Regions from separate parts of the Homo sapiens genome. Here regions 1 and 3 are each linked to region 2. The links are contacts of gene promoters, found by promoter capture Hi-C in human tissues and cell types (Jung and others, 2019). All regions are on one chromosome and are shown on one strand. The core of a region is centred on a gene start or on the middle of the fragment in contact, and the rest is flanking DNA. Distances in the headings are between cores, read along the strand shown. Region 1 overlaps KCNB1 (potassium voltage-gated channel subfamily B member 1). Region 2 holds the start of PTGIS (prostaglandin I2 synthase). Region 3 overlaps KCNB1 (potassium voltage-gated channel subfamily B member 1).

Region 1 (3,841 bases), core at 1,297-3,796, 200 kb after region 2:
TTTTCTGTTCAGATAAAATATATATATATATGTATTTTTAGCAAATTTATAATAGGGCAATTGAGTCTAATTTCTTCTTTTGTAATACAGAACAATATCTTAGGAGTTTCATTGTTGGTCATTATCGTAGCTGATGTTTTCTGGTCTTTTGCAGTTCCTACCATTGTCCCTTGGGCTGTTTGGGTTTTCTTCCTTTTGATTCTGATTTCTTGAGGGTGGGGAAAGACTTTGGGGTTTGACTTCCTTGTGTAGGCATTTCTTGACACTAGGCCTGGACTCTGTCAATGCTGTGACTTTCCTCATTCATTTCTGTGTGTTTCTCCCATTCGTTGTTCTTAAGAATCCAGGGCATGAATGCAGGAATGAGACCCAGGGAAGCAGAGCTACAGATGGCCCTCAAAATCAGGATGGGATGTGGGCTGGTTTCACTTATATCCCACACCCCTTTAGGGATCTGAAGGGACTGAGTTTTCTCATCCCCAGAGATCTTGGAACCAAAAATCTCATGCAAGCAAACTCATCACTGGCATTTCTGAGATCCAGAACACATGTGAGTCCCTCCTGGCTGGGCTGCTCCCACATGTCCAGCACCCTGTCGGCCTGTAACATCAATCAGAGCTGAAGGTCAGAGGTTTTTCAGGTTCTCGTGAACCTCACAAGAACATGCTGGGCCTCCGATCTCACCAACTTGTTTATCAGTTCCTTGTTTCGATCTGTTTATTTATTTATTTTTTTGTTATTATTATTTTGAGACAAAGTCTTGCTCTGTTGCCCAGGCTGCAGTGCAATGGCGCAATCTCGGCTCACTGCAACCTCCTCCACCCAGGTTCAAGTGATTCTCATGTCTCAGCCTCCTGAGTAACTGGGATTACAAGAGCGCACCATCACGCCCAGCTAATTTTTGTATTTTTAGTAGAGGCAGAGTTTCTCCATGTTGGCCAGGCTGGTCTTGAACTCCTGACCTCAGGTGATCTGCCTGCCTCGGCCTCCCAGTGCTAGGATTACAGGTGTGAGCCACCACTGCACCCAGTCCATTTCAATCCATTTCTAACAGCTTCACCAAAAAACAGTGGCCAGACACCCTTGCAGCCAAACCCTGAGAAGAGATGTCCCCGAATCTGCTAGCTCATCTCCCCTTCCCTTGCCAGCTGCCTGGCTCCATAGAGCAGGAGGTGTGTGGCAAGGACAGGGGCAGTTTTCCAGCTTCCACCTATCCACGCCTGGGGGAGTTTTTGGACTGTCCTGATAATTAATTCCAGAGGCAGTTTTCAGTCCTGGGTGGGCGGAGGACATCTCACTAGGCAGGATCTTCAGCAGAAAGTGATTCTCCATCCGTCAACTCATGCAGGAAGATGAAGAAAGCCCAGATAATCTCCAACTTGCATTCGTTTAGGTTTTGGTATACCACCCACCTCACTGTCAGCTGCAGGGCTTGGGGCTCTGCCTAGAATCAGAAATTTGAGCCAAACTGGGACCCTCAGATGGCAGTGAGCCATCCCATCAGATAACTCCCAAGAGGAAGCCAACTCAAATATGAATTTTATTATTCTGGACTATGACCCTGATCAGAGTTCTCCCACCCCGAAAACCTCTGATAGTCTGGTTTGAACCAGAGTCAAATAAAACAGACAAGATTTTTTTTTCCTCTGCACAAAAGCAAAAAAACAAAACAAAAAAAAGTCTGCCAGTAGTTTCCTGGGTTTGATGCCCAGATAAGCAAACACTGTTGCCTATGGCTGTTGCTGTTTTCATCAAGAAAGAGGTTATATAGTTTGCATTTCCATCCACTCTCCCTGATTTTATCTTAACCTAGAATTTCTCCTGAACTACCCCAAATGCCAACTTGAATTTGGGTAGGGCTCTGTTAATCGAGGGAACCCTCATCTTCACTTATAAACCTAATTCTCTGTTCCTCCCTCCAAAGATCCTGAAAAGATCTCCTAAAGGCTGGCCAGGATGGGGTGGAGTGGGGCAGTGCACCTGAAGAAAAAAACTTAGCTGCCAGCTGGCTGTATGCAAGTTCTCCGAAAATTTCTATTGTATGAAAGGGATGGGGTCAATTGCAGCTCAAATTAAGGAAGCCCTCCTAACAGGCTGGGTTGTCTGACCATGGAGCTCAATGCCATGGTGGACAGTGAGCTCCCTTATATCACAGGTGTTTAAAGAGAGGCTGGCTAGATGGTGTAAAAAATGGGCATTGCAGAGGGGCCCTAGCATTGCATGGAAACTGGGCTGAACAACCACAGAAATTCCTCTTTGTTTCTTGGAGTGTGTGTGTGTGTGTGTGTGTGTGTGTGTGTGTGTGTGTGTGTAGGTGGTTTCAACACTCTGGATATAAGCTCAAGCCACTGAGGCAAAGGCATGCAGCACAATTAGCAGGAATGCAACTTCTGGGCTTTGGAGCTCTCAGAGGGGGTGTCCAAGAGACAAGTCTGCTTCCTTCCGGCTCCGTCTTGGAACATTTTAATGACTGTCAGTCACCAATCCAACCCATCCCCAGTGGCCTACCAGGCACCACATTGGGATGAGACTCATGCTACCCTTCCCCAGGCCAGCCAAGGAGCAATCCACGCTGTCCCCCATCCCTGGCTGGCTGTCTTATGGTGCTTCAGCCCCTCCGCCCAGCTCCTGTGCCCTCATGAGCCTGGGGCTTTCTGTATAAAAGATGCAATGATATCTGTTCCCCACTAGCCATCCCCACAATGAACAACTTCCCAGGCAATAGCAAATGGCTCCATTCCAAAAGGGCTTGTTTTTTTGGTAAATCAAATAAGAGACCCCACTCAAGACCTTTGAAAGTCCCCGTCAATGAAAAAAATCCAGAAGGGTCAAAAGAGAAAGGCAGCTTTTAATCCAGTTTCACAGCAAAACCAGGCTCTTGGCTGCCTCCAAGCAGAATGCCACTCTCCTGCAGCTGTGGCCTCCATCCCAAATCATCCTGCATACTGCATTCTCTAAGGAAAGCATTTGACAAGAGAGGGTTTATGTATGGTGGATTGGGAGAAAGTGAGACTTCAACCTCAGGGTGAACCGAAGACTGGTTTGTCTTTGGTTGTTTTAGTATGAGGTTGGGCAGGATGATATGTTTGGATGGGTAGAATGAGCAGCCGCCTTCCTCTGAAACCAAAATAAAATAAAAACCAGTTTTCAAGATTCCTCCCAACTCCTCACTGGAGGCTCTGCCCTGCAGAATCACTCAAGTTGCAACAACACAAGGAGACAAAAATAGGATATTTCATGAAAATATAAGAAACTCCCAATTCCGTCCCATTAGGATGCCCTCAAGGGGCCATGCAGGGATCTTCCCATACTTCCTGCTTCCCTGATCTGAACCAAGATTGGAAAGAGGCAGGCAGCAGAGAAGATGCCCAAGAAACTCTGACATATCCACAGCTTGGCTCTGCCCCTTGGGCTTCACTGGGGTTTGGGCCTCCCTCTTGGTTGAGCTGAGTGTGCCTGAGTGGGTGGGGACAGGGAGGATTCTCCAGGTCTATCTTGATTTCATAGGTCCTTCTCAATCCAAGGTCAAAAACTGAGAATCTTATTTTCTGCACCAGGAACTCAGGGTTATCCCCAACCTATGCCGCTGGCACATGATGGTCATCCAACCTGTGTTTTTGTGAGTGAGTGAATGTGTGACTGGTTGGCCTCTGAGTGGATGACTGGATGCGTGAATGTGTGAGTGAATGGGGGAGTTAATGAATCCCTACCTAACTGTGAAGAGAAGAAAAATGAGGAGCCCCTCTCCCACTGAAACCCATAACTGCCCCATCAAGGTCATCTTTCTTTGACTCAAGATGACATCTCAATTTGATGCTTGTAGGCCCCAAGCTGATAAGGG
Region 2 (3,775 bases), core at 863-3,362:
TGACAGGCACTCACATAGGTGTGCCCCATGGACCAGGTCGTTTGTTCCTGACCTCAACTCCATGAGGTTCTCTTTTCCCCATTCTGTCAATGAGGAACCTCAGCTTAGGGAGGTGGAGCAGTCTGCTTGGGGTCACAAAGCTGAGGATCGGCCAAGCCCAGCTGTGAACCCCACTGCTAGCAGACAGCCCTTTGGAGCTCCCCAAATTTGGAGAAAATCCTCTGGACCCGTTCTATGGCCTTCTTGGGATTGTTGGCTTCTCTGGCAGATAAGCTGGAAAAATAAACAAGAGGATCAGAAAACTCCTTTTGCCTCCTGCTGTTCTGAATCTGCTGAGGCCACAAGGGGGTCATCCAGCTGCCTCGACAGCCAACATTAAGCAGGCAAATGAATGAATCTTGAGTATGATAGCAGGACATGTGAAGTACTGCCAGAAAAAAAAACTATCAAAAAAACAAAGAAACAAAAATCAGTAAGAGGAGATGACTGTTTTAGACCAGGTGGCCAAAGACAGCTTCTCTGCAGTGACAGCTGAGCAGAGATAGAGGCACCGGGGAGGTGGTGGAAAGAGCAGGCTGTGCGAAGAATGCTCCGAACAGAGGGAACAGCACGTGCAAAGGCCCTGCAGTGGGACCTCTAGGGAAAGATGGGGAGATCAGTGTGGCTGGAGCAGAGTGGGTGAGGGAGAGAGTCGGGGGCATAGGGTCAGGCAGGTAAAGGTGAGAAGGGGCGGATCATGCTGGTTCTCGAAGGGCCTTGTCAGGACCCTGGCTGATAAGGATGGAAGCCAGGAGACCAGGAGGAGCAACAGCTTCTCCAGAGCTCTGCTGGGACTATGGAATGAAACGTGCCTAAGCTCACCCGGCACTGAATGGGTGGATACAGGACTAGAACAAGACCTCCTGGGTCTTACCTCCAGGTTCAGCCCATGGTTTCATAAAACTTAGTGTGCCAAGCACTCAACAGTTTGTGATTCCTTTTAGTGTCAAGCTCTCATCACTTCCTCACAACAGCCCCAGAGGTAAGCACAACTCTGCCCTCCCTGTTTCCAGATAATGAGGTGAGCTCAGAGAGGTTGAGCTACCTGCCCAACGCTTCCCAGGGTGGGAATGGGGATGGTGGGGGCAGGGGCGTGGAGTGAGGCTGGATTGACCCCCAGTTCTCATCAGCACCCTGGGGTGGTACATTGCAGAGCCGCGGGCACAGGGGGCTGGCACCCCAAGCACCAGGTAGCGATGACAATGGCCACCACATCCGGAGGCCCTAACGTGCACCAGGTAGAGGGTGCATACTTCACGGGCACTATCTGTCCCCAAAGCAGGTGAGGATGAGGGGACTCCCTGAGACACCCTTGTACCCCCTGCCCAGTAGTTACTGAAGATACTATAGGGTGCGATATAATCCAGACCAGCCCTCCCAGCCCAGACCACAGAATGGAAAACTCCAGGTCCCCAGCACGCCTGGGGTGGGGGATGGGGTGAGGAGGAGCCTTGGGGGGTTTCCTCTGTCTAGGTGGAATGTGGAATGTGGTGGGAAAGCTCCTCCTGACCCCCTTACACTCCTCCTCCATGTTCGTCCCCTCCCACCACATTTTCTCCTCCCACTGTGCCCCCTCCTCCCCATACCTCCTTGGCTGTTTCCCCATCGTCCCGCCGTCTTCCCACATTCCCTCCTCTTCCCTTCCCCAAAAGTCCTCTCCCATCTTCCCCATCCCTCTTCCCTCCCCGCATATAATCTCTTCCTTCCTGTAAATCCTCTCCCTCTCCCCTCCCTTCCATCACCCCCCAGTCCACCACATCCCCCTCAGTCCCCCATCTATCTCCTTTCCCCTTGATCACTCCCCAGCCCACCACATCCCTTCCGCCCCCTCCCCCTCCCCCTCCTTCTCCCCTCCCCTCCCTCCCACATTTTCCATCAGGCCTGAGCTGGGGGGAGCAGGGTTTCTAACAGAGCGCCCCGGTCCGACCCCTGCGGACCTCGGAGGGCCCCATCCCCCACCCCCCCCACCCCGCCCCAAAGCGGGCTGGGGTGGGCGGAGTGGGAGGGGCGCGCCGGGTGGGGGCGGGGAACTTTACCTGGGAGTGGGCCAGGCCGCCAGCCCCGCCAGCCCCGCCAGCCCCGCCAGCCCCGCGATGGCTTGGGCCGCGCTCCTCGGCCTCCTGGCCGCACTGTTGCTGCTGCTGCTACTGAGCCGCCGCCGCACGCGGTGAGTGTCCTGCTCCGCTCGGCCCCGCCAGACAAAGGGGGCGGCTCCCGCCCGGGCTGCAGCCCAAGGGTCTCGGAGCCCGCGGCCGGCCCGGCCCGAGTCCCGCTCCAGTATCCCGGGCAAGGCGAGACCCTCGGAGGTGGGAGTCCCGGGGCCCCGCACGTGGGTGAGGGGGCCAGGCCGTGCTCCCCCTGCCAAGAAGGTGCAAGGTGGGAAGGTGCGGGGTCCGGTAGGTCCCCCGGGGCGAATCGCCCACCGCGACAAGTCCGAGTCTGGCCCTTAGCGCGACGGCAGGGACCTAGGAGGGGGTTTCAGGTGAGGACCGAGGGTTTGTGGGTGGGGAGCCGTGCGGGGACAGCCTCTGCGTGGCCCGGGTGGAAGAAGCGCTCTCCACTCTCCAGCCTCTGCCTGCACCTGGCACCCACCTACGCGCTGTCAAACCCTGCCTTGCTTTCGGCAGTCCTATAGGGATAGCCTCGCTCCTCAACCCATTACACAGATGGGAGTGTTGAGCCAGCGGAGTGTAGAGCCCCTGGGGGATGTCTTGATCATGCCCTGGAACCACCCACCCCGGGATTCCCCGTCTGGAAGACGGGGGTCGGTGGGCTTAGTAATTTCATTTGCCAGGGAGAAACTGAGGCCTATGAAGTCTCTACCTTCCCCTGAGGTCCCACAGCCTGGACAGAACGGAGCCAGGGTCAGATGTCACAGCCTCCTGGTCCCAAAGGTTTTCCAGCTCCATTGAGCATCTGTGATTTAGGAGAAAAAGTAAAGACAGCCTCAAATCAAGGAGATAGCTGTAGCTCTCCTTTTCATAAAATATTTTTTAAGTTAACTTGAATTGCATAAGGAATAGCTGAATACATTCGACTTAACACAAATATTTATCCTGTTATAGGTAAGACCGAAGCCCCTTAACCCTCCCCCAGCCCCTGAAGTCTAGTCCTCTCTCCCTCTCTGGGCCTCTCCTGTTGCTGAGTCTGGGTAGAACCTTCCATATTTAAAAAAATATACTTTTTATTTGAGACTAGTTTGGGATTTACAGAAAGTTGCAAAGATAGTACAAAAAGTTCCTGTATTTCTCTCACCCCGTTTTCCCTATTGTTAACATCTTACATTGTTATGGGACATTTGTCGCCACTAAAAACCAACACTGGTCCGTTACTCTTAACTAAACTTCAAACTTCACGGGATTTTATCCAGTTTCCCATTACTGTCCTCTTTTGTTCCAGGATCCGGCCCCAAGTTACCACATTGCCTTTAGTTTTCATACCTCCTCAGTCTCCCAGATGTTTTAAAAATTACTCTTACATAAAAATTACTCTTACATACATAGACATGAGCTTGTAGCTAATACAGAGCCACGTAAGAGAGAGTTAGTTTACATTCGTGTCTGAAAATTCCGGAAACCTTGGGAACTTTTTGATTTTTAAACAATATGGTAGTTGAATTTTCAAACAATAAGCTCACTGTATTTTTCTTCAACCTCCAGACATCTTTTCAGCTGAAATTTACAACTGTGTAGTCAATCATTTGCCTTAAAACAAGAAAAGAAAAAGACAGTGAATA
Region 3 (4,227 bases), core at 1,326-3,825, 160 kb after region 2:
CTGCTGAAGGGGCTCTGGGCTTCTTGAGGGGATAGATTGAGTTTATTTAGTTTTTGCATCCCCAGAATCTGCCACAGGCTCTCCATAAATGCTTGCCGAATGGATGGATGGATGGATGGATGGATGGATGGATGGATGGATGGATAGATAACAGATGAACAAATGGACAGATTACTGAACATATAGATGGTGCATAAGTAGACAGATAGATAGATAGAGTAGGAAAAGAGAGATAAGAGAGGTATGAGAGAGAGAATTTCTAGCTGGTGGAAGAGGGAAAGAGCAAGTGCCAGGCGCACGCTTCTATGCCTGTGGACACGTAAGGCCCCAGGCATCTGCTCACTTCTACCATATCCATTGGCCATGCCTAGCTGTAAGGGAGGCTGGGAAACAGTCTCTATTCTGGGCAGTATGTTTCCCAATGCACATCAGTGGATCTATAACACTAAGAAAAGGAGAGGTTGGATAACAGGGACATATTCTGCCCCACTTAATATCCCATCTCAGTATTTTTTTTCCTTCATAGCACTTATCACAATCTGCTATTACCTTGTTTATTTGTTTATTGTCTGACTCCCCTACTAGAAAGTAAGCTTCATTGTGGTAAGGAATCTTGACTATCATGTTCACCACTATATCGCCAACAGTACAAATGAATGAAAATTAATTAACTTATTAATTAAGGCAGCTTGAGCTTTTTCCTTCCACACTAAATTTTTTCAGAGTTTTCTTTTGTCAACATGTAATTGCACCCTGGGGGAGATGTCAGACATGTGGCTGTCATCATGAATGCAGCAGTGCCGAGAGAGTGGCAAGTCCCTATTCTACAAAAACACAGTTTAGCTGAATGTCACTTAGGGAATGTCATGTCAAAATAATGTAATAAAAATACCAAACATGAATAAGACGGAGGAGAATGTTGGGAGCGTGAAGTCCTCAGCGGGCCTGCAGCAGTCAGACCTAATTACTCAGGCAGGCTCACCCCTACCAGATAGGGTCAGCGCAGGAAAGGGGACTGCAAAGCGTGCCCGGGGCTGCAGCTCAGGTGGCCAATGGCCCTAGAAGCCCCCTCCACCCTCTAAGCTCAAAAGACTGTCTTTCCTGCCTGACCAGCCCAGCCTTTCCCACCTAGGCTCATATGAAGGCAGAGATTCTGGTTTTAAGAGATAAGGTCACTGGTTCTGAAATGTGGTGTATCTGTGGCCTGTGTGGCTTCCACGAGACAGTGTACTGTGGTTAATAACAGGGGCTCTGAGCCCAGCTCTGCCTGAGTTCAAATCTCACAGTTATCTCTTGCAACAGAGACCAAATGGTGCACAAAGACTAAAATATCTACTATTTCTGCTGTGGAACCTTGCCCGAGGATTCCAGTCTCTCTGAGACTCCGTTTCTTCATCTGAACATAGGGCTGCCTATCTCATCAGGGTCCTATGAGCTAAGACATGTAAAGCCTCTGGAGCGGGGGCCAGCAATCCAGGGCCTGTGGGCCACATCTAGCCCACCCCCTGTTTTGGTACAGCCCTCAAGCTAAGAACAGTTTTTACATTTTCAAGTGGCTGAAAAACATCCAAAGAAAAATATTGTTTCGTGACATGTGAAAACCATATAAAATTTAAATTTTAGGACCATCAGGGTTTTTGGAACAGAGCCATAACTCACAAACTCATTTCTGTTTATCTGTGGCCGCGTCTGTGCTGCCCTGCAGAGTTTAAGGGTTGTGACAGAGATCATGCGGCCCCCAAAGCCTAAAATATTTACTCTCTGACCCTTTTACAGACAAAGTTTGCTGAGCCCTGGTTTAGAGAGCATTGCCTTATTCAGGCCCTTAGGGAAGCAAGTGTGGAGTGGGCCCCAGGCTGCATCTATTAAGCACCAACTGTGGGCAACCTCTTGGGTTAGGCACATTATATTTGTCATCCCTTTCACAATACTCTGAGGTCAGTGTGACTGTCCCCACCTTATAAATGAAGAAACTGAGACTCAGCCAGGCACGGTGGCTCACGCCTATAATCCCAGCACTTTGGCAGGCCAAGGCAGGTGGATCACCTGAGGTCAGGAGTTCCAGACCAGCCTGGCGAACATAGTGAAACCCCATCTCTACTAAAAACACAAAAATTAGCCAGGCATGGTGGCAGGCACTTGTAATCCCAGCTATTCAGGAGGCTGAGGCAGGAGAATGGTGTGAACCCAGGAGGTGGAGGTTGCAGTGAGCCAAGCTCACACCACTGCACTCCAGCTTGGGTGACAGAACAAGACTCTGTCTCCAAAAAAAAAAAAAGAAAGAAACTGAGGCTCTAAGAGGTGGTGGAAGCTCCTCACCCTGGCCTTCAAAGCTCTGCCTGATTAGCCCACAGTCGCCCAGCTGGGTAAGTGTTAAAGCTGAGATGTGAACCCAGGGCCTTCTGATTCCACTGAGCCCCCTGCTTCTCCCCCTCACACATACTGCGTGCCCTGTTGCCTGAAGTAGCTCTGGAAACATGCCAGCAGCTATGTCTCTCCAATGCCGGACAGAGGAATCACGTGGAAGTGTTTGTAAAGATGTGAACTCCTGGGTCCTAGCACAGATCACCTGAATCATTATCTCTGTGGAAGACCCTGGGATCTTCATTGACAGCAAACTACCCCAGTGGATTTCAACACCAGGAGAGTGGTTGGGAGGAGGAGGGCCCCATAGGCTCTAGCTGCCAGGGAAGGTTTCCTGAGGAAGAGTGGGCAAATCAGGGAGAGGAGAGGCCACCCCAGGCAGGGGATCCTGTCTGAGCAAAGGTAGGGAGGCAGGAATGAGGCTGCTGTGTGCAGCGAGGTGTCGCTTGGCCCCTCCTGATGCGGGGACAGGCTGCATACAAGCCAGCCAGGTTTCGGGGGTTGAGTGACGGTCAGGTTCTCCCATGAGCCCTGGTGCTTCCAAGAAGTAAGGCAGCTCATCCACCCAGGGCCCAGAGCCTCCTCTTCCTCTAGGTCCTTAAAATAAATTGCAAGTTCCTCACCCCGGCCTTCAAAGCTCTGCCCGATCTGCCACCCGCCTGCCTCTCCATTATCATCTCTGGCCACTCTTTCCTTTGCTTCTTCCACACCGGCCACACTGGCCTCCTTTCTGGTGCCCAAACACGACCGTTCCTATCTCAGGGCCTTTGCACACGCTGTATCCTCTTCCCCACAGTGCTTGGCCTCAGACCTCTGCTTAGCAGGCATCCTCAGAGGGGCTTTCTTAACCCTCTGCCTCCCTCCCATTGGCACTCTCTCCATCGCCCACTAACTCCCTCCCTGCCATTTCATCTGTTTGTTGGCTCCTCTGCTGTCTTGGGGACAGTGACTCCCAGAGCCCAGCACAGTGCCTGGCACACAGAAAGCACTCAGGACATGCAACCGAATGGACATGCAACGTGGAGTGTGTCCAAGCCAGAGAAGGGCTGAATGGCGGCTCAGGACTCCCCTCTTGGTTACGTACTCAGCACCCAGGGGACTGCTGGTTAAAGGCTTGGGGTGATAACTGTGGCATGAGAGTGGACAGAGGGGCACTGGGGAGAATTCTCCAAGGATAAAGCAAGGCAGTCAGAGAGGCGCTTGCCTTCGTCCACCCTCCAGAGAGGAGAGCCCACTGTCATCTTCTGGAATCCACCAGAGCATCCCCTGCCTCCACAGGCCCAGGAGCTAGTGGCCACCCCAGGTCCCCTCATTGAACAAGCCCTGGGCCAGCCCTCCACATCCGCGTTCCCATTAAATATTCACAGTTCCACGATTAAGGAAGTCTCACTGTCTCCCACTGCAGATGGGGAAAGCAAGGCTTGGAGCGGTGAAGGAATTTGTCCTGGGTCTAGCATGAAGCTCCAATGCTGGAACCCAGTGCGGAGCCTGTTTTTCCCACCATTGTGTTGTGGCTGCCACCTCAGTTCCCACCATTCATACCATTCTCCCATCCTCCCTCGTGTGACATTGTCAGAGAGTCCTTCTGAGACCGCAGCACATCACCCTGGGAGACGGTCTCAAAGACACCTTCTGTTTCCATTTCCAATGTAACTTTGTGGCTCAGTTCAAACCAGGAAGGCAATGAATGTTGAGGAGAGGAGGCATAGAAAACCCAGACCCAAAGGAAGTCAATTTTCAGAAACAAAACTGCAGGGAGGCCGGGCGTGGTGGCTCACGCCTGTAATCCCAGCACTTTGGGAGGCCAAGGCGGGCGGATCATGAGGTCAGCAGATCGAGACCATCTGGCTAACATGGTGAAAC

What was found. Contacts are between HindIII fragments. The study calls those that stand out against the background at their distance.
Region 1: a contact is called between a fragment that was not itself captured here and the fragment with the promoter of PTGIS in region 2, in 1 of the 25 tissues and cell types used here (lymphoblastoid cells).
Region 3: a contact is called between a fragment that was not itself captured here and the fragment with the promoter of PTGIS in region 2, in 2 of the 25 tissues and cell types used here (IMR-90 fibroblasts and liver).

What each region holds. Positions count from the first base shown.
Region 1 is chr20:49,364,679-49,368,519 of GRCh38, reverse strand. It overlaps KCNB1 (potassium voltage-gated channel subfamily B member 1), which reads left to right. Exons shown (of 2, transcript NM_004975.4): 2 at 1-3,841. All of the region lies in intron 2 of LOC105372649 (a long non-coding RNA gene), which reads right to left. Among named protein-coding and RNA genes, the nearest start is that of SNORD12, 86 kb to the right of the region's middle. The HindIII fragment of the contact is 6,282 bases long and covers 1-3,841 here.
Region 2 is chr20:49,566,474-49,570,248 of GRCh38, reverse strand. It overlaps PTGIS (prostaglandin I2 synthase), which reads left to right and starts at 2,112. Exons shown (of 10, transcript NM_000961.4): 1 at 2,112-2,206. The coding sequence starts at 2,133. It overlaps LOC101927486 (a long non-coding RNA gene), which reads right to left and starts at 2,205. Exons shown (of 2, transcript XR_244188.4): 1 at 2,076-2,205. RefSeq lists enhancers at 581-1,195, 1,196-1,812. The HindIII fragment of the contact is 24,721 bases long and covers 1-3,775 here.
Region 3 is chr20:49,408,409-49,412,635 of GRCh38, reverse strand. All of the region lies in intron 1 of KCNB1 (potassium voltage-gated channel subfamily B member 1), which reads left to right. All of the region lies in intron 2 of LOC105372649 (a long non-coding RNA gene), which reads right to left. Among named protein-coding and RNA genes, the nearest start is that of KCNB1, 72 kb to the left of the region's middle. The HindIII fragment of the contact is 8,489 bases long and covers 1-4,227 here.